2 separate regions of the Homo sapiens genome follow, and region 1 is linked to region 2. Evidence: promoter capture Hi-C in human tissues and cell types (Jung and others, 2019). All regions are on one chromosome and are shown on one strand. Each heading gives the region's core, a stretch centred on a gene start or on the middle of the fragment in contact. The rest is flanking DNA. Distances are from core to core; before and after follow the strand shown.

What was found. Contacts are between HindIII fragments. The study calls those that stand out against the background at their distance.
Region 1: a contact is called between a fragment that was not itself captured here and the fragment with the promoter of RGS9 in region 2, in 1 of the 25 tissues and cell types used here (IMR-90 fibroblasts).

The regions. Positions count from the first base shown.
Region 1 is chr17:65,079,476-65,086,097 of GRCh38, forward strand. The region is part of intron 2 of LOC105371864 (a long non-coding RNA gene); the gene reads right to left. Among named protein-coding and RNA genes, the nearest start is that of GNA13, 26 kb to the left of the region's middle. The HindIII fragment of the contact is 8,211 bases long and covers 1-6,533 here.
Region 2 is chr17:65,134,232-65,141,102 of GRCh38, forward strand. It overlaps RGS9 (regulator of G protein signaling 9), which reads left to right and starts at 3,139. Exons shown (of 19, transcript NM_003835.4): 1 at 3,139-3,366. The coding sequence starts at 3,310. RefSeq lists a silencer at 2,829-3,328. The HindIII fragment of the contact is 16,688 bases long and covers 1-6,871 here.

The DNA of each region.
Region 1 (6,622 bases), core at 1,178-3,677, 55 kb before region 2:
GTTGAGTTGTCAGGTCAATGCTGGAGCAAAATCACACAAAGAAGCCTACTCAGTGACTGCCAGGATCCACTTGGCACTCCCAGTAGAGCCCCAGGGGGACTCCACATCCAGTTAGTATTCCAACACCCCCCCACTTCCCAGCGAGGAGGGGCTTGAGCCTCCCCAGATGTATGCATTTCCTGGGGCTGCCATAACAAAGAACCAAAAGCTGAGAGGCTTAAAACAACAGACATTTACTATCTCCCAGTTCTGGAGCCTGGAAGTCTAAATGCAAGGCGTCAGCAGGGCCGTACTCTCTCCGATGGCTCTGGGTTAAGAACGCTTCCTCGTCTCTTCCAGCTTCGGTTGCTGGCCAGCATCCTTGACATCTCTATTCACATGGCTGTCTCCTCTCCGCATCTTCACACTGCCCTCCCCTCTCTATTCACATGGCTGTCTCCTCCCCACATCTTCACACCACCTTCCTTCTGTATTTCTGTGTCCAAATTTCCCTTGTTTACAAGGACACTAATCATATTAGATCAGGGCCCCCGACCTCATTTTTTTTCTTATATATATGTATATATAATGAAAAATAAATATTATAAATCTAATATAATATTTTTATTTTTCTTATATATGTATATATAATGAAAAATAAATATTATAAATCCAATAAACTATAGTCATATTAATATAATATTTAATATATTATAAATATATAGCTTATATAAATGTTTATATTATATTATATAAAAATGTTAAATTTATATATAATACATGATATATAACATTTACATTTATATTTTATATATTATAAAAATATCATATATTAAAATATATTTAAACTATAAATATATATTCAATAAATATGTAACAATATGTACATATATGTGTGTATATATATTTATAAATATAATTGAGATAGTGTCTCACAGTGTTGCCCTGGCTGATCTCAAACTCCTAGGCTGAAGTGATCCTCCTGCCGCAGCCTCCCAAAGTGCTGGGATTACAGGCCTGAGCGGCTGCACCCAGCCCTGAACCTCATTTTAACCTGATTACTTCTGTAAAGACCTTCCTTCCAAATAAGGCCCATTCTGAAGCAGTGGGCGTCAGGACTTCAGCATATCCTTCTGTGAGTGTGGGAGGGGGTCACAATTCAACCCGTAACACCAGTCTTAATAAAACTTTTTTTTTTTTTTTTTTTGAAACGGGGTCACGCTCTGTCCCCCAGGCGCGATCTCGGCTCACTGCAAGCTCCACCTTCCGGGCTCACGCCGTTCTCCTGCCTCAGCCTCCCGAGTAGCTGAGACTACAGGCGCCCACCATCACGCCCGGCTAATTTTTTTGTATTTTTAGTAGAGACTGGTTCACCGTGTTAGCCAGGATGGCCTCGATCTCCTGACCTCGTGATCCGCCTGCCTCGGCCTCCCAAAGTGCTGGGATTACAGGCATGAGCCACCGCACCCGGCCAATAAAACTATTCTTGGCAAGACCTGCAGCAACGTAAAACTGTGGCCAAAAGTATGAACTGTGCAGCTAGAAGGACTTGGTTTGACACCAAATCCAAACCTCTTGCCAGTTTTCTGAACCTGGCACATCACTGCAACCTCGGCCTTCTGGGTGTCCTCTAAGATAAGGACAATAGTGCTTCCCTCATAGTGCTTGTAGAAAGGGGTCACTACTGATATATCTAGCTATCTAGCACCTAGAATGCCAGGATCAATAAATATTTTATTAAATAAATATATATATTTATATCCTTACTTTTTTTTTTTTTAAGAGATAAGATCTCACTCTCTTACCTGGGCTAGAGTGCAGTGGTGTGATTATGGCTTACTGTAGCCCTGTAGCCTCAACCTCTTGGGCTCAAGTGATCCTCCTGTCTCAGCTTCTCGAGTAGCTGGGACTGCAGGTGTGTGATACCCTGCCCAGCTAATTTTTAAATTTTATTGTAGAGGTGGAATCTCACTATGTTGCTGAGCTTAGTCTTGAACTCCTGGCCTCAAGTGAACCTTCTGCCTCAGCCTCCCAAAGCACTAGAATTACAGGTGTGAGCCACCACATCTGGCCTAGTCCTTTCCTTAAGAGGCACTCTATGGGCAGAAAAGACAATACAGACCTAAACAAGAAATTATAATATATCATGATGTCATAAATAATGGAAATACCAACAAAATACAGTAGAAGCAGAAAGGAAGGCCTGGGGGACTTCCCAGAGGAGGCAACATCTGGAGAAGGGTTTTAAAGGTTAAGCAAGAGTTTGGCAGGCATAGGCATGGAGGTGGAAAACAATAGGGCCCCTTCCGGGCATCATAAGCAATCTGGCATTATAGGACTATAAAGCGCAAGAGAAGGAGAGGTGGGAGATGAAGTGGAAAGAGCAAGCAGGAAACAGATCATAAGTGGCTTCAGGTGCTCTTCAAAGAAGCACAGGCTTTATTTGTCTCCTGTGGGTGACGAGGAGGCATTTCAAGGCTTGGAAATATCAATCAAGTCCCAGAAGAAATGGATAACACACTGAATCTGGGCAACCAAGGAGAGTTTAATAAACGGACCATGAATAAAGACTTGAGAAGGGCTGGGCAAGGTGGTTCATGCCTGTAATTCTAACTTTGGAAGGCCAAGGTGGGAGGATTGCTTGAGCCCTGGAGTTCAAGACCAGCCTGGGAAACATAGTGAGACCCTCATCTCTAAAAATTAAAAAGAAACAAAAACAAAAACAAAAAAACTCAGCTGGGTGTTGTGGTACACACCTGTTGTCCCAGCTACTTGGGAGGCTGAGTTGGAAGGATCACTTGAACCCAGGGGTCGAGGCTACGGTGAGCCATGATTGTGCAACTGTACTCTAGCCTGGGCAAGAGTGAGATCCTGTCTCAAAAAAAAAAGTTGGGGGGGTGGTGCGCGGGGGGATTGAGACGTGATTAGGGAAACAACAAAGGGCGGCGCAGTGCCCCAGCAGAACCACAGCAGGGAACTCTTACTGCATCTAGGCTGGAAGCAGCAAGTGAAAAGAGTGAGAACCAGAATCCCGTAGCTGTAGGAGTGGCCACCTCATGGACATGGGCTTTGGTAGAGGAAGGCAGCTACCAATAACCCTAGGAGCTCAGTGGTTAGATGCGCCAACCTCTTCCCACCCTCCAGTCTTCCTGACCCAGTTGGAAGTCCAAGAGCAAAGAAGTCCAGGTGACAGGGTCTATAGAAACCAGCTACTAGGACATCAGGATGGAAGGGTGGAGATGGAGAGGACATCCGGAGAAGCAAAGGAAAGCTGTCCAGCTCAGAGGTCTGCTGGTGGCTTGGCGGAGGCTGGGTGTAGGGAATTGGTGATAGCCTGACAAGAGAAGCTTTGATTCTGAACTCAAGCCTCTGAGAAGGTTTGGAAAGGCAAGGATGGAGCTACAAGAAATTTAGGAGGGAGAATTGACCACATAATTATAGAAGATGAGTGAAAAGGAAGAGCCTGGAAGTCTAGAAGTTTAGGGTTTGGGTAAAGGCATGAGTGTTGATGCTGTCAACTCAGGAAGAGAAATCAAGAGAAAGAGAAGGTTTTCATTTTGCTCAAGGGCATGGAGGCGAAGGTAGGGGAGAGTGTGATGCTAATAAGCTCAGTTTGGGACTTGTTGAGGAGCCAGAGAGACATCCTAATCAAGATGTCCCCAGGCAGTTGGCAATGTAGGTCTACAACTGTACTGTCCAATACAGTAGCCACTAGCCACTTGTAGCTATTGATTTTTTTAATTTTTAATTTTTTTGTTTTCTTTGAGATGGAGTCTTGTTCTGTCTCCCAGGCTGGAATGCAGTGATGCAATCTCGGCTCACTGCAACCTCTGCCTCCCGGGTTCAAGCAATTCTCCTGCCTCAGTCTCCTGAGTAGCCGGGATCACAGGCACCCACCACCGCACCCAGCTAATTTTTGTATTTTTAGTACAGATGAGGTTTCACCAGGTTGGCCAGGGTGGTCTCGAACTCCTGACTTTGTGATCCACCTGCCTCAGCCTCCCAAAGTGTTGGGATTACAGGCTTGAGCCGGCCCTGTAGCTATTAAAATTAAAATTAAATAACATCTAAAACTCAGTTCCTTAAACACACTAGCCACATTCCTTTTCTCTTTCTCTTTTTTTTTAATATATAGAGATGAGGTCTCACTATGTTGCCCAGGCTGGTCTCTACTCCCGGGCTCTCACTTCAACCTCCCAAAGTGCTGGAATTATAGGTGTGAGTCACCATGCCTGGCCATTAACCACATTTTAAGTGCCCAGTAGCCACATGTGGCTAGTGGCTACCATATTGGACAGCCCAATTTATAGAACATTTTCATTATTACAGCAAGGTCTATTGCACAGCACTTGATTAGAAGATTGGAGAGTAGGTAGGGCTGGAAAGGAGAGACTTGGAGGTCATCAACACGTAAGGGTGGTTAACCATGATGGGATGAGTGAGGTCAGCTTGAAGAGCACGAAGAATGAGAAGACAGATGGACTAAGAGTGAACTCTTTCATGTCCTTTGCAGGGACATGGATGAAGCTGGAAACCATCATTCTCAGCAACCTGTCACAAGGACAGAAAACCAAACACCGCTTGTACTCACTCATAGGTGGGAATCGAACAATGAAAACACTTGGACACAGGGTGGGGAACATCACACACTGGGGCCTGTCATGGGGTGGGGGGCTGGAGGAGGTATAGCATTAGGAGAAATACCTAATGTAAATGACAAGTTGATGGGTGCAGCAAACCAACTTGGCACATGTATACCTATGTATCAAACCTGCATGTTGTGCACATGTACCCTAGAACTTAAAGTATTAAAAAAAAAAAAAAAGAGTGAACTCTTGCAGAACACACACATTTACTGGGCAGCTTGAGGAGCCAGCAAAGAAGACCAAGAAACAGCTATCAGATGAAGACTAAGAACTAGAATAGAGTCATGTCCCGGAAACCCAGGAAGAGCCATCAAGAAGGGAGAGGTGAGCAGTGTAAAATGTTGCAGATAGAACAGAAAAGGGGGAGCAGGCACAGTGGCCCTCTTTTGTAGAGCTGCAAATCCCAACACTTTGGGAGGCTGAGGTGACCAGATCACTTGAGCCCAGGAGTTCCAGACCAGCCTGAGCAACAGGGTAAAACCTGATCTCTACAAAAAAATAAACAACAACAACAACAACAACAAACTAGCTGGGAGTGAATGGCACACACCTGTAGTCTCAGCTAACCAGGAGGCAGAGGGAGGATCACCTGAGCCTGGGAGGTTGAGGCTGCAGTGAGCCGTGATCATGCCACTCCAGCCTGGGTGACAGAGTAAGACCCTGACTGGGGAAAAAAAAAAAAAAAAGGAATGCAGGGTGTCTCTTGCAGTTGACATTTGGCAGGACATTTGTGAAGAGAGCAGTTTAAATGAAACAGGGATGGGACCAATTCCAGATTGCCCCAGATTAGGGAGTAGATGGGAGGAGAGCAAGAGACGACCACCCACCAGAAGGGACAGAGAAGGGCCGAAAACAGATAGAGTGGTAGCAAACAGATATAAGTGATAGCTGAGGGCAGGGAAGGGAGGACCACATTTTTTTAAAAGATAGAAAAGGTGGCCGGGCACGGTGGCTCACACCTGTAATCCCAGCACTTTGGGAGGTTGAGGCAGGCGGATCACCTGAGGTCAGGAGTTCGAGAGCAGCCTGGTCAACTTGGTGAAACCCTGTATCTACCAAAAACACAAAAATTAGCCAGGCGTGGTGGCAGGCGCCTGTAGTCCCAGCTACTCGGGAGGCTGAGGCAGGAGAATTACTTGAATCCGGCAGGCAGAGGTTACAGTGAGCCAAGATTGTGCCACTGCACTCCAGTCTGGGCGACAGAGCAAGACTCTGTCTCAAAAATAAATAAATAAATAAATAAATAAATAAATAAAAATAAAGGATAGAAATGGCTTTAGCATATTTATAGATCAAAAGAATAGGGATGGGCAAGGTCAAAAAGGAGACAGGAGGAGAGCACACACAACTGGAGGGGGTGGCCTTGAAGAGGAAAGAGATACATCGCCCTCTAACAGGGGCAGATGAAGATGCATTTGTGGTGGGGGAGGTAGCAGTCAAGGCTGCCAGCTGCTTAGCTTAGCAAATGCATTGTCAGCTGCCAAGAATGAGAGGAGTGGAGGCTTGGTCAGGAGCTTGAGAAGATGGGCTAATGTGTGAGAGCCGCAGAGGGAGCTGCCAAGTTCAAGAGGGGGATGAACAGTTTGGGGACCCCAATTGGACGGTGAGCCTTGGGAGTGTCCTGATGTGATGTCACAGTTACGTTTCGTGAAACGCAACACAGATGGTCCCGTACCTGGGGGACTGGAGGGTGAATCTTCACACCAGGGTGGGAGGACCCGAAGAGTGAAGGAGATGGAATTTGAAACTCCCTGTCTAAAGAAAGAAAGTGGAACTTGTGGAATAGTAAACAAAATCCTTGCAGGTGCTCCCGTTTTCATTTCCTTTGCATATCCTGGCTCAGTCATCTTCCTGCACCCTTGCAGATGTTGCCATTCCCAGGAAAATCAGGGGCAGAGAGCAGCATGGGTGGGAACTGGAAAGTCCCTGCCGTGGAGGGTCTTGGGGGGATGCACCGGCTCCTGCTCCCCCATCTGCTGCTCACGGAAGGAGACGCC
Region 2 (6,871 bases), core at 1,889-4,388:
TAAATAAATCGATGAATTAAATCAATTTTTTCCCCTAGGACACTGGCATGAAACTTTGAATACCATATTATATGACAGGCTCTTTCAGTTGCAAGAAACAAAGACTCAGATATGTGGGAGGATTCCAGAAGATACCCTTGCCCTTGGTAAGGCACTGACCCAACTTAGTCCGAGGGGCTTGTCTGTGTCATGGCCCCTCTGCTGCTCTCTGTTCAGCTTGTTGCTTCCCTTTTTTTCTTTTCTTTTATATGTATATTTTTTGAGACAGAGTCTCGCTCTATTGCCCAGGCTGGAGTGCAAATCTCAGCTCAATGCAACCTCTGCCTCCCAGGTTCAAGCGATTCTCCTGCCTCAGCTTCTCGAGTAGCTGGGATTACAGGCATGCGCCAGCATGCCCGGCTAATTTTTTTGTATTTTTAGTAGAGATGGGGTTTCGCCATGTTGACCATGCTGGTCTCGAACTCCTGACCTCAGGTGATCCGCCCGCTTCGGCCCCCCAAAGTGCTGGGATTACAGGCGTGAGCCTCCGCGCCCAGCCTGTTTGCCTCCCTTTTCTGATCAGCTTCCTCTGCTCACCTTTCATTTCTCCTTCCTCATAACTTCAGCTTGCATTTGGTCTCAGCTTCCTGTGGCCCTGACTTTATCTGACTCAAGTTGGCATTTGTGAAGGTAATAATCTAACAAGCTCCTCTCCGTTTTTCAGATCCACATCATGGTCCTATCATGTGGGGAACTGGCCTCTGGTCCAATGAGCAAAGATGGGTCCCACAAAATGTAGTTGCTTGGAGAGCAGGGCCTGACAGAAGGGGTGGGGAGGAGAGTGGCAGGCACTGAGGCCTCTCCTATTCTATTAATGAGCAAAGTGCCTTTTATTTTTGCCTCTCTTTGCTCCTGAATAATTTTTCTCATCCTTCATTTTAGGAAAGCCACTTATCTTCTTGATGCTTAGGGTTTCTAGAGACAAGGGATGTTGAAGCTGGAAGGAACTTCATAGCTCATCTTGGTCAGATCCCAGCATGTGCTCTGTATAACACTAGGCTCAAAAGATGCTTCATGAGAAAAAAAATCAAGATATTCCAGCATTTTCTTTGGATTTAAACTCACACCAGGCTCAAAAGATGCTTCATGAGAAAAAAAATCAAGATATTCCAGCATTTTCTTTGGATCTCAGCTCACACCAGGAGCATACTTCTCAGTGGTTCAATTTGCTTGGCAGGATCTCTGGTCTTCTGCTTGGATGGATCTCTGCAGGGTCCAGCGTCCTCTAAATTGGAGGCTCTGAATCAGGGATTCCTGAAAAGGCACAAGAGAGGCCCAAGCATGAACCTCTTGAAATTGTTTGCAAACTTCAGTCAGTGTTGTGTACATGTGCATGTGTGTGTGTTCCTGAGTGTCCATAGCTTTCATCAGATTCTTACAGGTAAATATCACCCGAGAGAATGGATAAGAACCACTGCTTTTTTTTTTTTTTGAGACAGAGTCTCACTCTGTCACCCAGGCTGGAATGCAGTGGCTCAGTCTTGGCTCACTGCAGCCTCTGGGTTCAAGTGATTCTTGTGCCTCAGCCTCCTGAGTAGCTGGGATTACAGGTTGCTCCACCATGCTGATTGATTTCTGTATTTTTAATAGAGATAGGGTTTTGCCATGTTGGCCAGGCTGGTCTTGAACTCCTGACTTCAAGTGATTCACCCGCTTGGGCCTCCCAAAGTGCTGGAATTATAGGCGTGAGCCATCACACCCAGCCAAGAACCACTGCTTTAAAGGGACATTGGTTGACTGTGCCTTCCTAAGGTAAAGGCCTTCTTGTTTTCTTCCAACTTAAACATTTTATCTGCTACACTCAATAACCATCGAGTATGTTTAAGAGAAAGTGCTTTATATAACAAAGCAGAAAGGCTCTTGATAATAACTTAGAGGCTTCATCCTTGCATTTTTCTCAAGATGAAAACGCTAACATAATGAGCTGTCAAGGTAGGTTCATCAATTGTAACAAATGGGCCACTCCAGTGGAGGATGTTGATCATGGGGGACGCTGTGCGTGCGTGGGGAGAGGGGATATATGACGTGTCCCTATACCTTCCGCTCAATTGTGCTGTGAACCTAAAACTGCTCTAAGAAATAAAGTCTATTAAAACAAGCAAACCAGCCAGCTGCAGTGGCTCACTCCTGTAATTCCAGCACTTTGGGAGGCCGAGGTGGGTAGATCGATTGAGCCCAGGAGTTTGTGAAACTCCCTCTCCACAAACAATTTTTGTAAAAATTAGCGGGGTGTGGTGGCACGTGCCTGTAGCCCCAGCTACTGGGGAGGCTGAGGTGGGAGGATTGTTTGAGCCTGGGAGGTTGTAGCTGCAATGAGCCATGATTACGCCACTGCACTCCAGCCTGGGTGACAGAGCAAGACCCTGTCTCAAAAAAAAAGTTAAACAACAACAAACCCAACAACCAACTAACCGAAACACTAAGAATCAGAGAAGTAAAATATAATTCGCTTCATCCAGACAGCTAGCCCGGTGAGGACTACAACCTTCCTCTCTTCCTTCTTCACTTCTTTGCTCTCTCTTTTTAAACCCACATCTTAGCAATTCCTCTGCTATTGGGTCATTAAATCGCCACCTCTAATTTTTTTTTCTAAGCATTTATTGAGGGCCAAGCACTGTGTTACACATCTCCTCATTAAAATGGTATAGCAACCTTTTCTGGTCGATATTATGATCCCATTTTTCAATTTTTACTTTTGAGTGAAGGACATTGATTCTTAGAGATTGTAAGGAACTTGCCCAAGGCTGCCGGCTGGTTAGTGGCAGAGCTGGGATGGGAAAGTCCGTATTTTCCACCGCGCTGTATTAGTGAGGGCTCTTTGTGTCACTTCTGTGCATAACTCCGCCCCAAGTTAAAAGGCTCGCTGCTCTCGACAGGTCCTCCTCCTCCTCCCGCTAGGTCCTCCTCCTCCTCCCGCCAGGTCCTCCTCCTCCTTCTCCTCCCGGGGCCCTGCCCTGCGGGTCTCACCTGCTGCTCCGCGGGGTCCCGGCGGGGGCCGGATAGCGCCCCCTGGCGGCAGGTGGGCGCCCGCGCAGCGCATGCTAATGAGCCCGCGGCGCCGCTCGCGGATTGGCTGGCGCGGATTCCAGCTGCTTTCCAAGTCAGCGGCGCCTAGTGAGAGTCAGGGGGGCCCGGCCCGCGCCCTCCCCGCCCAGCCGCCTCCCCGTCGACGCCCAGGGCTGGGGCGAGCCAGGCTGCCTTTCGAACTTGGGGGGCTTCTCCTCTTGTCTCCCACTGGTGCTCTGGCTGTGAATCCATCCAGGGGCCAGGATGACAATCCGACACCAAGGCCAGCAGTACAGGCCGAGGATGGCATTTCTCCAAAAGGTAACCCTGGCCCCTCACCTGGACCCTGGGAGGAGGGCGGGGGACCGCATCTGCGAAGCGTCCGAGGACAAGAGGGGCAGGAGTGGAGAGCACCCCTTTGGGTCGATTTGTGCTGCTCGATTTTATTAAGTGACTTCTTTGCTGTGTGTGTCGATATTGATGGCTATAATAATTAGGTTTTCGTGTGCCCTGCCTGTAGTGGAGAATCTGAAGCCAGCGCTGATGGTCTGCGGGAGGTGAAAACAACCTGTTACTCGGGAGAGGCAGGTTCAGTTCAGGCTGTGGCAGATTTGAGACAGCCTGCTGATATTGTTGTAAGACGACCAGATGTGACATTGCCATTTTTGCCTTTTTTTTCTGATCCCAAACTGCACTATTTTAAAGTGTGTGTGTGTGTACACATAGACCATGAAAACGGGGTGATTTGTAGGATAAAGGGCCACCCCATTTACAATGCCCTGAGAGCCCTCATTTGAGTGTGTCTATCTGTGCATCTCCTGCTGTCTGCGCTGGCGGCAGAAGTCCCAACCTTTTCGCTTCCCTTGCGAATGCTTTCCCAGACAAAGTGACCGGGCACAGGGTGTGCACACAGGATGGACATGTGGGAGGTGGAATGCACCTGTGGGGTGATGTGTTTGGGGACAAAGTGGTTCATTTAGTTCTGAGCTTCTGGTATAATCACTGTCCGATGAGATCTACAGAGGATTAGGTCCCGGGTCACATCTTTGTCCTTCCTCCCACCCGTAGCCACTTTTCACAGCGTAGTGTCCATCTTCTTAGGCTTATCTTGTTGAGTAGAATTAGTTGAATGTTTTGTGACAAGCTGAGCTCTCCCTGAGCCCCTGGAGCTCAGCAAATTTGTATAGTCAGTGACCGCTGTCCTGATTTGCCCAGGACTTTCAATGCTAAAACCTGGACAGTCCTGGGGACCCCGAGACGGTCGCATTTGGTCCACCTGTTTCAAGATGCTCGTGCTCATCTTCCGGGTAGCAGAGGTGTGGGTATCATCTGTAAAGCAGACAGGCTGAATGTTGTCTCACTCAGAAAGAACCCTGAGAGCCTGTATTGCAGATACCAGTTACTAAAAGCAGAAGAAACTGCCTAAGTCGGCTATCTCAAAGCCACACATCATCTTCCAGGATTTATCCTAGGACTGTCTCCTCCCAGGCAGGACAGCTCTGGCTTGGGGGCTCAGAGGGTAATTGTCAAGAGATAAATTCAGTTTGTTTATTGAATCTCTGGCATTCTTTTCCATCATGACTCTTCTCTGGTAGATTCTCCTCTCCTTACCTTGGTCTTCTGACTAGTGTCTTGGTCTCTAGTTTCTCTCCTCCACCCCAGGCTTCCCTCCTCCTCCCCAGCCACCCCTCCTCCACCCCAGCATCCCCTCCTCCACCCCAGCATCCCCTCCTCCACCCAAACTCTCCCTCCTCCACCTTAGTCTCCCTTCCTCCACCCTAACCTCTCCCTCCTCCATTCCAGCTCCCCTCCTCCACCCCAGCTCTCCCCCCTCCACCCCACCTTTCCCTCCTCCACCCCAGGTCCTCTTCCTCCACCCTGTCTTCCCCTTCCTCTACCCCATCCTCCTCCTCCTCCCCAGCCTTCTCCTCCTCCATCCTAACTTACCTCTCCTCTACCCTAACCTCCCCCTCCTGCATCCCAGCTCCCCATCTTCCACCCCGGTCTCCCCTCCTCCATGACAGCTTTCCTACACACACTGTTTTTTTCCCCCAAATCAATGGTGACCTCCTTGACCTGAAACGCTCCACTGGCTTCCCACATTCCCAGCATAAAGTCCAACCTTCCCCTGAGCAGCCTGGTTACCCAGGATTCCGCTCCCACCATCTTCCTGGCTTTGCCTCCTGCCTGCCTTCCACACCTGCCCTCTGGGAAACAACAAAGCAGCCACAGGCACCCCTGGGCTCCTGCCTCAAACACTTCCTTCCTTTTTAGGAACCCGGTGCCCTTTCATGCCTCAGGGTCCGTCTGCTGGGAAAGTCCTTTCTCCCCCTCTCGCTTGCCAAGCTCCACTTCTCTTCCCATGCCCAGCTCAGTCACCCCTCGGCTGTGAAGGCTGGTTCTCCTAATGCCCCTGGGCAGGACAGCTCCCTTCTCTGTGCACTACAGACCTTGCCACACCTCCAGCATTGCTCTTTCCCTAGACCTTGTGCTGGCAAGGGCCCTGTCTATGTATCCTCTATATCTATGTATGTATTGGTCATGTCACAGAGCTCCTTGGAGCAGCAGACAGAATAAAGGTCTGCAGAACAGGTCTCAAGAGCCCATGCCAGGCGATCCTTAATGAAGAACCAGCTACATTCGATGTTCAGCTTTCTGGAGAAGGGCCTGGAACAAAAAAATGTGGACCTGGGTGCAACTGTCACTCATCACTCGTTCCATGCATGTGATGAAGTACACGGTGTCCATGATGGTGTGGAGGGGTGGGCATTATGTGCATTATCTCATCTATTTCATTAGCTGGAGGTTATGGCCACCATTTTACAGAGAAGAAAGCTGAGGCTCAGAGAGGCTAAGCGGCTTGCCAGTCACGCAGCACTAGGTGGTGAAACCAAGAAGAAATACAGGAGTGGTCGTTGTCTGTCACAAGTTGTGGTGCAATGCCCTGAGCTTTCCCATGACGTAGGGCAGAGTGTGGAGGCTGTGGGAAAGCCTGGCTCAGTGTGCTTAGGGACACAGAGCTGAGACCTGAAGGATACATAGGGTTTCCAGGCAGAAAGGGAAAGATGTTTCAGGCAGAGGGAACAGTTTACGCACAGAGGCATGGGAAAGCTAGTGGGTTTGGGGCCATGTTCTGTAATGGATGGATTTTGAAGTGCAAGGGGAGTGGGAAGCTGGAAAGGAAAGGCAGAGGTAGTGGGTGCCTATGGGCCTTCAAGACCTTTTAAAGGTTTGGTTTTATCTCATACGGAGCCACTATAGAAATTGGAATGGGCAAGTGATATGGCAGATTTGCAAATTAAGAAGATCACTGGTGGGCCAGTTGCAGTGGCTCATGCCTGTAATCCCAGCAGTTTGGGAGGCCAAGGTAGGTGGATCATCTGAGATCAGGAGTTTGAGACCAGCCTGGCCAACATGGCAAAACCCTCTGACTATTAAAAATATAAAAATTAGCAGGGCGTGGTGGTGAGCACCTGTAATCCCAGCTACTTGGGAGGCTGAGGCAGGAGAATTGCTTGAACCCGGGAGGTGGAGGTTGCAGTAACTGAGTTCACAAGTTCTTGCCACTACACTACACTCTAGCCTGTGTGACAGAGAGAGACTCTGTCTAAAAAAAAAAAAAGGACCACTGGTGTGAGCCAGAGGAATGGGTGGAATGCCTTCTCCCTGAACTAAGAGAGTTCACTCAGGATCCTCCTGTGCCCCTGCAGCTCCAACCTCTTGAGAAATGACAACTGTCATGGGGCCATGGAGAGCCATACTGGTCAGAAAGGACCGTGTGCGATTCCCGAGGTTCTCACACCCATGCCTCCATCTCAGTCTCAAT